Linked DNA regions of Homo sapiens: region 1 is linked to region 2. The links are contacts of gene promoters, found by promoter capture Hi-C in human tissues and cell types (Jung and others, 2019). All regions are on one chromosome and are shown on one strand. The core of a region is centred on a gene start or on the middle of the fragment in contact, and the rest is flanking DNA. Distances in the headings are between cores, read along the strand shown. Region 1 has its middle 110 kb from the start of MOXD1. Region 2 holds the start of VNN1 (vanin 1).

Region 1 (6,869 bases), core at 2,552-5,051, 420 kb after region 2:
TATTTATATGAGAAATATAATTCCAAATGCTCCCTATTTGAAATTTTATGTTGATTTTTACTTCAGAATTTCTGAATTTGAGGTATCAAAGTCAAATGATTTCCTCCTGAGATTCTGTAATATTATATTTGTTCTTACCAAGAACAAATATTCTGTAATATTATATTTGTTCTTGGTAAGGAAGGTGAACATACCAGCTAGACGAGGGTAAACAGCTTTGGAAGCTTAATTTATGGAGCCAGGCCAGGGAATCTCTTCCATTGATGTTACTAAGAAGAAAGTTGACATTATTCTTCTGGAAATTCTCATGAATATATGTGATTTCAAGGAATAGACTCTATTTCAAATTGGGATAGGTTATCTGTTGTAAGTTCTATAGAATTCTGATTGTATTCTAAGTTATTTGGTCTTATGTTGAGCACACCTTCCTGAACAGCCGGGCTTTTTATTACTCCTTTTTCAGAGAGGCTTTTAATTGCTTTCCTAGATTAAATAGCATCACCTGACACCTAGGCTGTCAGGCACAAGTCCCCGAGACTTTGGGGAGAATGGGGTCTCCATGTATGATGGTCTCTGGTTGGATCCTTAGGTTCAGAGAGTGTGGAGAAGACATACCTGGTGAAACCAACATTCATCAGTGCCATGTAAAATTGAGGGTATCCTGGGTGATCTTTTTTTTTTTCTGAAGGGGGCTCAGGCAGAATCAAAGGAGTCCTAGCAGTGATAAGAGTGATGTAGTCAATAGAGGTAGACATATTAAGAGCTTCAGACTTTGTCCTAATGGCTCCAGAGGCCAATGATGGGTGGCAAACAAAAGGACATTTGGAAGCAGTATGTAAAGGCTATTGCTCAGCCAAACTCATTATTGGGTGTAAAAGTCATTTCAATTTTTAATATAAGTATTGGTGATTTAACAACTTTGAAATTAAAACTTTTTTATATCCCTAAGTATTTTCTTACATCTAGGTCATAATAAGTGGAATTACAGAAATAATCATTGCGTATTTCAAGAATTTTGATGAAATATTGTCAGATAACTTTAACTTTTTCTCAAATGGTTTGGAAAAATTATCTATCCATCTATCTATCTATCATCTATCTATCTATGTGGTATCTGGCTATGTATCTACAGAGAGAGACATGTAAAATGATAATAATGGGTGAGTCTGGTTGGAGAACATAAGATTTCTTTGTACTATTGTTGCAATTTTTTAAGTTTGAAATTATTTCAGAATAAAAAGCTAGAAATGCAGAAAACATCATGAAGAATCCAGCTACAGCACAGTGATCCAGGTAGGTTTTCTTCCCTTTGCAGTATTCCTACATTTTGAGGTGGTAAAGAGAGAAACTAGATGGTGCTTACTCCTCAGATACCCCTGAGAGAGGGCAGAGATGACTGCAAGTTTGTCAGTTCTGACTAAAGATAGGATGTGCTTCCAGTTTGGAAGGAAAAAAAAAAGAAAAAAGGAACCACAAAACAAAAAACAGAGGGCTTGAGGGACCCAGGGAGTGAGGAAAAATCCAAAAAACTAAAAAAAAAAAAAAAAAAAAAAAAGGAAGAGGTCTTGCAGGCTGGAAATCACTTAAAAATAATATATTTATTTTGCTCTCCCCCTGATTATAAACCTAATGTGTAATGCCCATTTGCTAAAGAAAACTTAGAAAAGTATGATAATTTTTTAAATAATAAAATCTGTTAATCCTATTGACCAAAGAATAAATAAAACCTGTTAATAAATAAAATCTGTTAATTCTATTTCCCACTTCTAACTTTTACATTGCATATGCTTCTAGTATATGTCTGCAAAGGTGTATATCTGTGTATATTCATATATAGATGGAGATACAGATGTTAGGTAACACTAGCTTCTGAAACAAATTCCAAAATATCAATACTTTAACACAATGAAGTTTATTTTTCATCAATTAATTGCTCAATGTGTGTTCATCTGGTCATTGGCTTTCCTTCTTGTGGTGATTCCGGGACCCAGGATCCTGTGGCCTTATCATTCCTAGGGCTCAGGGTCATTTGCATTCCGCCTGCTAATGGAGAAGGACCTGACCTAGAAGGGGCAGAAATCACTTCCACTTTCACCACGTTGGTTAAAATAAGTCACATGGCCTCATTGAAATGCAAGAGGGGCTAAGAATGTCATCTATCTTTGGGTACCTGGAGAATGACAACACTACAGAAAGGAAGACATCTCTGCTGCAATATATGTTTTTAGTAAAATTGACTTTCATCTACTCAAATGATTCCAAGATTTTTGAGTTTTAAAAACAATGATCAAACCAACATAGGGTTGTCAACTTATGTTTGGCAAAATAGGATACTAAACAGAATGGTTACTATTTATTTAATAAATTAACAAATTGTATTGAGCCTATGTTGAGCCATGCTCTGTACTACAGCGTTGGGCTTACAATTGTGATGAAGCCCATAGCTGAGTACATTAAACCTCTTATCACCAACATTTCATTTTACAAATTGGAAGCATTCAAAATAAATATCAGTTCTTCAAATTGAATAAATTTAGCTTTACAGAAAGCTTACATCATCATCATGGACCATCCTTTCTCCATAGATTATGTGGACTATGAACATAGTTTATATCATATTGAACATCTTAGCCCTACAAGATTTTAATTGACAGTTGTATCTAAATCCAACATAGTCAGACTGGTACTTTATGAGTAGAAAATGGTCAGTTGAACAGGCTCATGGCAGCATCCATTACTGCCCAGGCCAGAGCTGTGATCCATGGAAACTATGAAGAGTCATGGAACATTGTTACAACTTAAAACAGGCTTATTGCATAACGTCTCTGTCTTAAATATAATAATGTGCATTTGAAAGTCCAAGAAGAGTTATATAGTATGAAACATTTCTCAAACTCATTTCACCAAACCCCTGTTGTGGTGGAGCAATGTTCCCAAAGGAACAAACTCTGGGGCACACAACTTTCTGAGCAGAGCATGTCCAGGTTTCTTTAACAGGTTCTTGGAAACTTCCAAACTGTTCATGGGCAACTGTAAAACAGTCCAACAGACATAAGCCTTTCACTTGGGTTCATGGTCTATTCCTTATTTGCCGTGTTATTTTGCCAATAAACAAACACACCCTCATTTTTTTTTTTTTTTTTTGAGAGAGAGAGAAATCCTCCCACCACAGCCGCCTGAGTAGCTGGGACCACAGGTGCGCACCACCATGTTTGGCTATTTTTATTTTTTTCTGTTTTTGGTAAAGACAGGGTCTCACCATGTTGCCCAGGCTTGTCTCAAACTCCTGAGCTCAAGCAATCTATCCTCTTTGGCCTCCCAAAGTGCTGGGATTATAGGCTTGAGCCATTGTGCCCGGCCCTCTGTTTTTTATTAATCTAGAGTGGTACAACTTACAGAAAAAATGAAAAACAATTTACCATTTTCTCAGGGAATATGCTAAAATGAATTATTTGACATCAATAAGGTATTTCAGAAATGTTGACAAAGCTGCATATCTTTGGAACATTTCAGACCTATAGATAGAGACTACCTTTATTTCCTAAGTAATTTTATTCCTTAAGAGAATGCTAAATTTCAAAATCCTGCCTTATTTCCCAACAATGAAAGCAGAAAAATTAAAAAACAAAATTCATCAGATGAGTTATAAGTGACTCTCTTTGACCAGTCACAGCTTTTGCCCTTTCTAAAGGTTTTCCATCACAAAGAGCAAAATATTTCCAGTGACTTTTTTGGTCATCATGATGTTGCTAAATTGCTTTACCATAAGGAAAACCTTACGTTAAAAAGGCAACTTTTAATGAAAGTTGTTTTATAGAGTTCCCTTCATTGTCCTTTGATTAACAATAGCATGAGGACTCTGTGGCCTCAATCTAAGGTTTATTTAATAAAGACATTTCTTTTCCAACTTCTTTAATATTTGTTGTGGAATTGATATAATGTGAAAAAAGGAATTTGGGGGGAATAATATACAAATGTAGAATGAAAGCCTGAATTACCCAAGTTTCCCTCTTATTTTTTACTAATCCATTAAATATTACTAATCAAAATAATGCCATACATTTTTATAATGTTTTGGAATTTGCAAAGTGTTTTCACAATATTCTCATTAATGCTTAAAACTGCTTTTACAAGTGAATAGTTATATTCAGAAAAGGTAAGTAGACAGCATGTTGTACTGTGGTAATTATGGGAGACCTAATTTCCAATTGCTTTACTTTAAACTATGTGGACATAAACTATATCCAAAATGACTTAGTAAATTTCTCTTTTCCCATCAGTAAAGTAGTGATAATAATTTCTAATCTTAAGAAGTTGCTTGTGGATTAAATATGGTAATAAAGATACAGCATCTGACACATTGAGCTCACTCAATATCAGTTTTCTTCTTTCCTTTGCAAGACCCCATGTTTAGGATGCACAATTCCTGGCAACAGAGGCAGGTTTCCTATTTTATTTTCTATACCATTTTCCGGATATAATCAATTGAAATTTGGTTTTAACTGAATCAGTTTTTCAAAGTGAATGACACTTAATCAAATGAATATTAGGTCTGAGTGAATTTGGCAATCATTCTCAAAAAGAAAAAAAAATCAATGACTAGCTACTTGTCATTTCTCATGTTTGTCAAAAGGAAAGACATTATTCTTTGCTCTTTTTCCTCCTGGAAATAATCTGCTGTCATGAAACTAATAAAGTTAAAATGAACCAATCTACCTTTCTCGTGTTTTTTATGATTTGCAAAAATGGAGTTCTAGTTTTTTATGAGGAAAGCTTTACAATTTTGGCCTATTTTTCCTTGCTTCATGAGACTTTTCCTTCCACATTTGGTTCATGTGTCTTCACCTCACTTTGACTATTTCATAAGTTGTCTTCTCTTCTTAGAATATATTTAAAAGACAGACTTTTTGAAATAAATCTATCAAATAAAACTATATTACTATTAACTGAAAATAAGGAATAATATGGGAAATAAAGGGAAGAGGGGGATTTTGTGTATTAAACAAAGGATGTGTTTCTCCCCTAAAGCCATTAGATGGCTTACTGCATATCTGGTATAAATCCTGCCAATGTTGGCTTGGAGGTATTAGACTTCTCAAAGAACCTGCCCTGGCCCTTCCCAGCCTACATACTTATTTCCCTATTGCCTTTATTTTCTTGCTAATTCTAAATTCAAATTACCTTAAGCTTCTTAAAGATTTTTAAATCCTCCATTTTTAAGGTTAACACAGATTTCCTAATGTCTGCTCTTTGCTTAAGTGACATGTGGTTGTACAGATGGGTTCTGCAGGAAGTCCATATGCAGCCTTTAAATAATTTTAAAATAATTCTTATTGAGGGTTAAGCTCTAAGATCAACCTTAAGTCTCCTAACCTTTTACTGTAATGATTCTGAGTCTCTTTTGAAATTTTCCAAATTGTTAGTTTGTTGTAGCTTGCATTTTATACTTCACCTTCTGTTTTGAGATTACTGTATTTAAATCTTTAACTTCTTGTTCTTTTATCTTCAATTTTTTGTTTTTAAATTTAATTTCCATCCTTAATTCTAATCTAATCAGTTTAAGCATTTTTTGCTAATCTTTTAATTGTTTAGCCCATTAGTTATTTTAAGAAGATATACTTCTTTATTTTAATAACAGCTTGAGGAAGTGCCTAAGCCAATTGTGAGCAGTGGTGAGAATGCACTTTGTAGACAGAAAAAGTGAAGGATTTTTTTTCCCTTAGAACTCTCTGCATTTACATCACTGGCTCCCTGTAAAGAATTTCCCAGGCCAAATGAGGATTCTGCAATGAACTTGCCTAGTCATTTGCTAATCTTGCTAGAGTTAGAAGCACCGTCATTCAGATGGGATACTGGAATTGCAAGAATGGAATTGCTTTCCATAGACCATTTAGTCCTCATATGAAGAACCGTGTTCTTTAATACTCCGTTATCTCCAAATGACAAAACCATAGGGTTTGGAGTAAACTATGACAATTTCCATTCCCTAGTCAGGAGCTGTCTTTGTGCAGTGCACTTGGAGAAATGAGCCATGCGGTGTACTAAGCCTTCTCTGCAAGTTGCCAGCTTTCTTCTCTTATTTGGTGATTGCTAATTAGATACAGAACTTTTCCCTTTCCTTCTTTTAAAATCTTCCTTTTTTTTTTATGCTTAACAGAGATTTCCTATAGTCTGTTCTTTGCTTAATTGACATGTGGTTGTACATATGGGTTCTGCAGGAAGTCCATATGCAGCTTTTAAATAATTTTAATTTGTCATCAATCATTCACCCTTGAACCAGTCTGCCGCATACTTGAAATACGCGAGTGAACAAGAAAGCTAATGATGAAATCTAGTGAAGAAAACAGAGACTGTAGTTACAAATTTTTTTAAAGTCTCTTATTTCTGAGTCCTCTTTACTTAGCTGACATAGCATCAGTTCTGATGGCCATAGGGCATAATTTCTTTTCACATATAGTATACATATTTACTTTTCATAATCTTTGGCATATATGTTGTGTTCAATTAAGTATTGTATTTGCCCTCAATGTTAGTGGTATTTTTAGAACTATCATATTTTCTATATTATAGAAAATATAGAAAAGATATAAATTTTTCTATATTTAGAAATATTAGTTATTTTAAGAAGATATACTCTTTAATAACAACTTGAGAAGTGCTTAAGCTGATTGTGAGCAGTGGAGAGAATGCAATTTGTAGAAAAAAAAGGGAAGAATTAAAAAAATTTTGTTTAAGTGGAAGAATTCTTCTAAATATAGAAGAATTTATTAACATCCAATAGTTTAAAAGAACTTTCTTTAAGTAAGATATGTTTGCATCTCCAATAAGAATATTATTTTATGTTATTTGGATTGATTCAACTCTACCTA
Region 2 (6,345 bases), core at 1,199-3,698:
AGCCTCCACCAATTCGTCAATTACAGTTCAAGTGAACCCACGGTACTGGCGCCAGCCGCAGAGGACTCTGCTCGCAGTACACTCTTAACCTCTGTATCTGCCTATCTCTGCAGTTCTGAGGACCGCAGTTTATCCTGTGATCTCAATTCTCTGATGCATCCTAGAAAAGTTGTCGATTTTCATTTGTTTAGCTTTTTTCTTGGTGTGAGCATGGGAAAAATGACTGCCAAGCTCTTTATGAGTTGGACTAGAAACTCCACGGGAGGTTTAATATTTTTAATCTAAGAAGGTCAAGAAGTAATTTTTTAACCTCTTGCCAACTCATCTCAGTTTTAACTTTTATTTCAGTGCTTCCTTTTACAAATTGTTACATAATAATGACATCTTTTTGTGAAATATGTGGTATTCCCACCCACCTGGGCATGGAAAGGCCCTAAGAGGTCAGCAAGCAGTTAGAGAAGCTGGTGTTTACCGGAAACTCAGGAGAACCAGCCAACCACAACCCCTGGGTTACCTTGGCAATTGCAGAATAAATGCATTATAGTTACTAAAGTAAAAAATTAGATATGCCTGTTTGCAGATTGAACTATAAAAATACCATTCAAAGACAAATAGATCTAAAAATAAAATGGAAAAACATAAACACTAATTCTGTAAATATTATACTTAATGCACAACTGAAACAAAATTTGCCAGCTTACTCAATATCAAAATCTATGAACAGTTTTTCTATTTTATATAATTTCCCTCTCCTCTCTCTGGATCTCGCTCCCCAGCTCATTTTTTCTTTTTTTTGCTCTGATTCTTTATACACCTCTGTTGCCTCTGTGATAAGCAGCTTCAAAGATGGTTCCTAATGCTTTATTGGATAGAATACAACAAAAGCGATGAGGTGTTGCTTCCCCAATTACATTACGAAGCATCCGTGGCTTCCATCTCCAGTGGGTTCACTTGCTGTCTGGCTCTAAGGGAATCCAGATACCATAATGCGGGCTGCCCTATGGTGAGGTTTGCATCACTAGGAACTCATGTCTCTGGGCAACAACCAATGAGGTCTTGATCCCTGCCGTCAGCCACATGAGGGAGCTTGGAGCTCGGAAGTGAATCCTCCTGGAGTCAAGCCTTGATATAGCTAGCCCTGGCAGCTGCTTGACTGCAGCCTTGTGAAAGAGACCTTGGGCCAGAGGCACCAGCTAAACTGCCCCTGGATTCCTGACCCAGAGAAAGTGGGAGATGATGTATTTTTGCTTTTTGAAGCTGCTGAATTTGGGGATAATTTGTTATATAGCAATAGAAAATGAGTAACTCTTTTGTATTCCTCTTTGTCCTGGCTTCCCCATTTTGAGGAAAATAAAGTAAATCAAAGTGTAGAGCTGAAATATTCACATGAAAATAATAATAAAGTTTTAAAATTATTTGAATGTCTTGTGTTGACATTCCAAAATATATGAATTCCAAAAATTTATATGTTGAAGTCCTAACTGTCAGTATCTTAGAATGTAACTTTTTTGGAAAAGGGGTCATTTCAGATCTAATTAGTTAAGATGAAGTTATACTGGAGTACAGTGGGCACTAAATCGAATTGGTCCTATGATTGAGTCTCAGTCTTTCAGTGAGCCTGTACCCCTGGGTTTATGACCTTCAGTTGGCTTTTTTCTTCTGCCCTTATTTGGCATAAAAACAAAGCAGGTGGATCACCTGAGGTCAGCAATTTGAGACCAGCCTGCCCAACACGGCGAAACCCTATCTCTACTAAAAATACAAAAAATTAGCCTGGCGTGGTGGCGGGCGCCTGTAATCCCAGCTACTTGGGAGGCTGAGGCAGGAGAATCACATGAACCCGAGAGGCGGAGGTTGCAGTGAGCCGAGATTTCGCCACTGCACTCTAGCCTGGGTGACAAGAGTGAAACTCCATCTCAAACAACAACAACAATAAACAAACAACAACGATGACAAAAAAAGCTAGAGCTGGGATTTTCCCTTTCCCTGTGTTAAAGATTAGAGTGGTGTCCTCACAAAAAGGGAAAACTTGGATACAGGCACACACATGGGGAGAATAGCATATGAAGAGACACAGGGAGAAGGCAGCCATCTATGGGTCAAGGAGAGAGGCCTGGAACACATCTTTCCTTCACCGCCCTCAGGAGGAACCAACTCTGCTGACACCTTCATCTGGGACTCCCACCCTCCAGAACTGCAAAGCAATAAATTTTTTATTTTTTACACCACCCAGTTTATTGTATTTTGTTAGGCAGCCCTAGCGAACTAATGTACATAGAGTTCTTGAGTTAATCTTCACAAATTACTGCAATAAGGTAGGGTCTTTTGTTATGTAACAATGCTATGAAATCATAGCGTTTTCTTAATTAACTTCCGTAGTTTAAGGTACTAAGTTCTGGACACCACGTGTCTTCTTTCTATAAATACCAGGACATGCTCTGTTTTTCAGCACTCATTGGACTTCAGCATGACTACTCAGTTGCCAGCTTACGTGGCAATTTTGCTTTTCTATGTCTCAAGAGCCAGCTGCCAGGACACTTTCACTGCAGCTGTTTATGAGCATGCAGCGATATTGCCCAATGCCACCCTAACACCAGTGTCTCGTGAGGAGGCTTTGGCATTAATGAATCGGAATCTGGACATTTTGGAAGGAGCGATCACATCAGCAGCAGATCAGGTACCATCTCTACCATCTCTCCAGTGTACTGGATTCTATGAGAAAGGAGGGGGTCCTAGGAGACAGGGCCACTGTCAGGGTCAGTTACACTTTTAGATGATATATGTATCAGAGTAGCCAAGAACCTTTATTTTACAGTTAGAATTCTACTTTCCTCTCAAAATTAGAGCAAGGACTTCCCTAAAAGTAAGAACAAAGTTAAGAAAAGAACAATTTGCTCATTATCAAGAAGCAGCAGACCTTTGAGGAACTGGCCATAAATTCAACATCTTTGTTCCCCTTTTCTGGTACAGATGGAGGATGGAGGATAAATGGGTCAGGGACTAGGTGCTATTTTCAGAGTATTAGTGGCCTTCATGTACTCATGTGCTATTAAGGCTTTGCAGGTTTTCGAATAAATTTATAATCTGAAAACAAATTTAAGTTTTCAATTCCTTGCCAGCATGCATTATATACTTCACACTTCATTCTAATTACAAGATAAAAGTATATGTAATGCATTGTGAGTCCTTAAGTTTAGTGAAGGTTTCAGTTTGAAGTTAATCATACAGTATAAATTGTGGTTTACACAAATATTATTTTAAAAGCTATTGATCGATTAGGTGTAGACCAGGAATACATGAAGTGTGATAAAAGTCATGGATAAATGTGTATTACATATATCTATAAATATATATTCTTTTGTGTTGTTGAGTTAAGGTCTCACTCTGTCACCCAGGATGGAGTATAGTGGTGTGATCACGTCTCACTGCAGCCTTGACTTCCCGGGCTCAGGTGATTCTCCCACTACAGTCTCCAGAGTAGCTGGGACCACAGATGCATGCCACCGTGCCCAGCTAAGTTTTGTATTTTTTGTAGAGATGGGATTTTGCCATGTTGCCCACGCTGTACTTGAACTCCTGACCTCAGGTGATCCACCTGCCTTGGGCTCCCAAAGTGCTGGGATTACAGGCATGAGCTACCGTGACTGCCCTATATTCTTATATATACTAATATTTAAAAGGTTATCAGGAGTTCTGATGTTCTTTTTCATCCTTAGTCCAACTATTTCCTTGAAGGTCACAGAGCTTTTTAAGGTGACTCTCTAATTGGAAGGTGCCCAGGTTAGCTCAGGCAGTACTTGTAGGCATGGGACAGTTCAAGTAACCAGTTTGTGGCTCCTCTTTTTCTGAGAAGCAGGAATCATGTTTGCAGGGGAAAGCTAGGGCAGAGGAGGAAATAAACAGAATATTTAAGTTATTAATCAGTCTTGACACAGGCACAGTCATCAGCGAAAGTTCAAGGAGAGGCTTGGTTCCAGGATAAGCTAGGTTTATAGTTAACGACTGCCATAGGAAACAACAATGGCAGGATTAGAAAATTAAAATGCTTGACTAAGCCAGGTGCGGTGGCTCATGTCTGTAATTCCAACACTTTGGGAGGCTGAAGCAGGCGGATCACCTGAGGTTGGGAGTTCAAGACCATCCTGACCAATATGGAGAAACCCCATCTCTACTAAAAATACAAAAATTAGCCAGGCGTGGTGGCAGATGCCTGTGATCCTAGCTACTTATGAGGCTGAGGCGGGAGAATCGCTTGAACCCGGGAGGTGGAGATTGTGGTAAGCCGAGATCTAGCCATTGCACTCCAGCCTGGGCAGCAGAGCGAAACTCCATCTGAAAAAAAAAAAAAAGAGAGAAAAAAAAATGCTTGACTAGAAGCCCAAACCTCACCATTATGTAACATATCCATGCAACAAACCTGCATTTGTACCCTTTGAATCTAAAATTAGAAATAAAGAAAAGAAAAGAAAAAGAAAAAGAAGTGACAGTGCACTGAAAAAAAAGGAAATTAAAATGCTTTGGAAAAGAAAATAAATTATAAAAATATAGAAAACAAAATAAGATTTAAGGGGTGTGGGGGAAGCCCAAATAGTTGTTACTCAGCCACTCAGCTCCTCAGCTCCTCTTGCAGGCCCCCCTTTGGATTAAGTTGCATTTTTAACAGGGTGCGCATATTATTGTGACTCCAGAAGATGCTATTTATGGCTGGAACTTCAACAGGGACTCTCTCTACCCATATTTGGAGGACATCCCAGACCCTGAAGTAAACTGGATCCCCTGTAATAATCGTAACAGGTAAAGAAACAACTTGTGAAAAATTCACTAGTAAACATCAACTTGATTTACCTGGGAAAACTTTGTTGATGATCATTGCATAGATCCATGATCAATTCTTAAGTTTCAGTATAGCTTATTTTTCATCTACTATGGGTATATTTACTGGGAGAGCAAATATGAATTATGAAGTCACAGAAGTCAGAGCTAGAAAGTAGCTTAGAAATCATCACATTCAGTGTGAACATCTCTGGTCTCTGACTCCTCACCAGTGAACAGAAAAATATTTCCCTGTGTAGGTCTGTGATTTGAAAACTATATGAGTAAATGGCAAAAGAGAGTCACATCAGTTTAAGATTAATAGTTTTCCTTTCTCATTGCTAAGATAGCTGATGAGGTTAATGTAGTAAAGTCCTTAAAGTGTAAGCTGATTGTAATCTAAGAGGTGATATGGCAGGATTTTAAGTGGTTTAAGTCAGGTCTCGGCTACAGAGATATTAAGTGTGGTGAAAGCAGCACTATTAATTTTAATGTAAGGAAACCAATATCTTATACACCTAAGAAAATCATGTCGATTCACATACTTCTTTCTGAATACACATGGCTAAAATTATTTTAGGAATTCCTCTTTTGGAACTATTCTCAAAACCGCACAACGCCAGTTAGAATGGTGATCATTAAAAAGTCAGGAAACAACAGATGCTGGAGAGGATGTGGAGAAAGGGGAACTCTTTTACACTGTTGGTGGGAGTATAAATTAGTTCAACCATTGTGGAAGACAGTGTGGTGATTCCTCAAGGATCTAGAACCAGAAATACCATTTGACCCACCAATCCCATTACTGGGTATATACCAAAGGATCATAAATCATTTTACTATAAAGACACATGCATGCATATGTTTATTGCAGCACTGTTCACAATAGCAAAGACTTGGAACCAACCCAAATACCCATCAATGGTAGACTGGATAAAGAAAATGTGGCACATATATACCACAGAACACTACACAGCTGTAAAAAAGGATAAGTTCATGTCCTTTGCAGGGACATGGATAAAGCTGGAAACCATCATTCTCAGCAAACTAACACAGGAACAGAAAACAAAACACTGCATGTTCTCGCTCATAAGTGGGAGTTGAACAACGAGAATACATGGACACAAGGAGGGGAACATCACACACCGGGGCCTGTCGGGGAGTCGGGGGCTAAGGGAGGGATGGCATTAGGAGAAATACCTAATGTAGATGATGGGTTGGTGGGTGCAGCAAACCACCATGGCACGTGTATACCTATGTAACAAGCCTGCATGTTCTGCACATGTATCTCAGAACTTAAAGTATAATAATAATAATACTAAAATTAAAAATCCCACAGAAACTGGCTGGGTGTGGTGACTCATGCCTGTAATTCCAACACTTTGGGAGGCCGAGGCAGGAGGATCACCTGAGGTCAGGAGTTTGAGACCAGCCTGGCCAATTTGGCAAAACCCCATCTCTACTAAAAATACAAAAATTAGTGGGGCGTGGTGGTGGGCACCTATAATCCCAGCTACTTGGAAGGCTGAGGCAGGG

Evidence for each region. The method cuts DNA at HindIII sites, captures the fragments that hold promoters and counts their contacts. A contact is called where the count stands out against the background at its distance.
Region 1: a fragment that was not itself captured here is called in contact with the fragment with the promoter of VNN1 in region 2 in 1 of the 25 tissues and cell types used here (thymus).

Annotation. Positions count from the first base shown.
Region 1 is chr6:132,288,884-132,295,752 of GRCh38, reverse strand. No RefSeq gene overlaps it. Among named protein-coding and RNA genes, the nearest start is that of MOXD1, 110 kb to the left of the region's middle. The HindIII fragment of the contact is 4,827 bases long and covers 1,388-6,214 here.
Region 2 is chr6:132,710,158-132,716,502 of GRCh38, reverse strand. VNN1 (vanin 1) reads left to right here and starts at 2,448. Exons shown (of 7, transcript NM_004666.3): 1 at 2,448-2,677; 2 at 4,664-4,794. The coding sequence starts at 2,468. The HindIII fragment of the contact is 14,207 bases long and covers 1-6,345 here.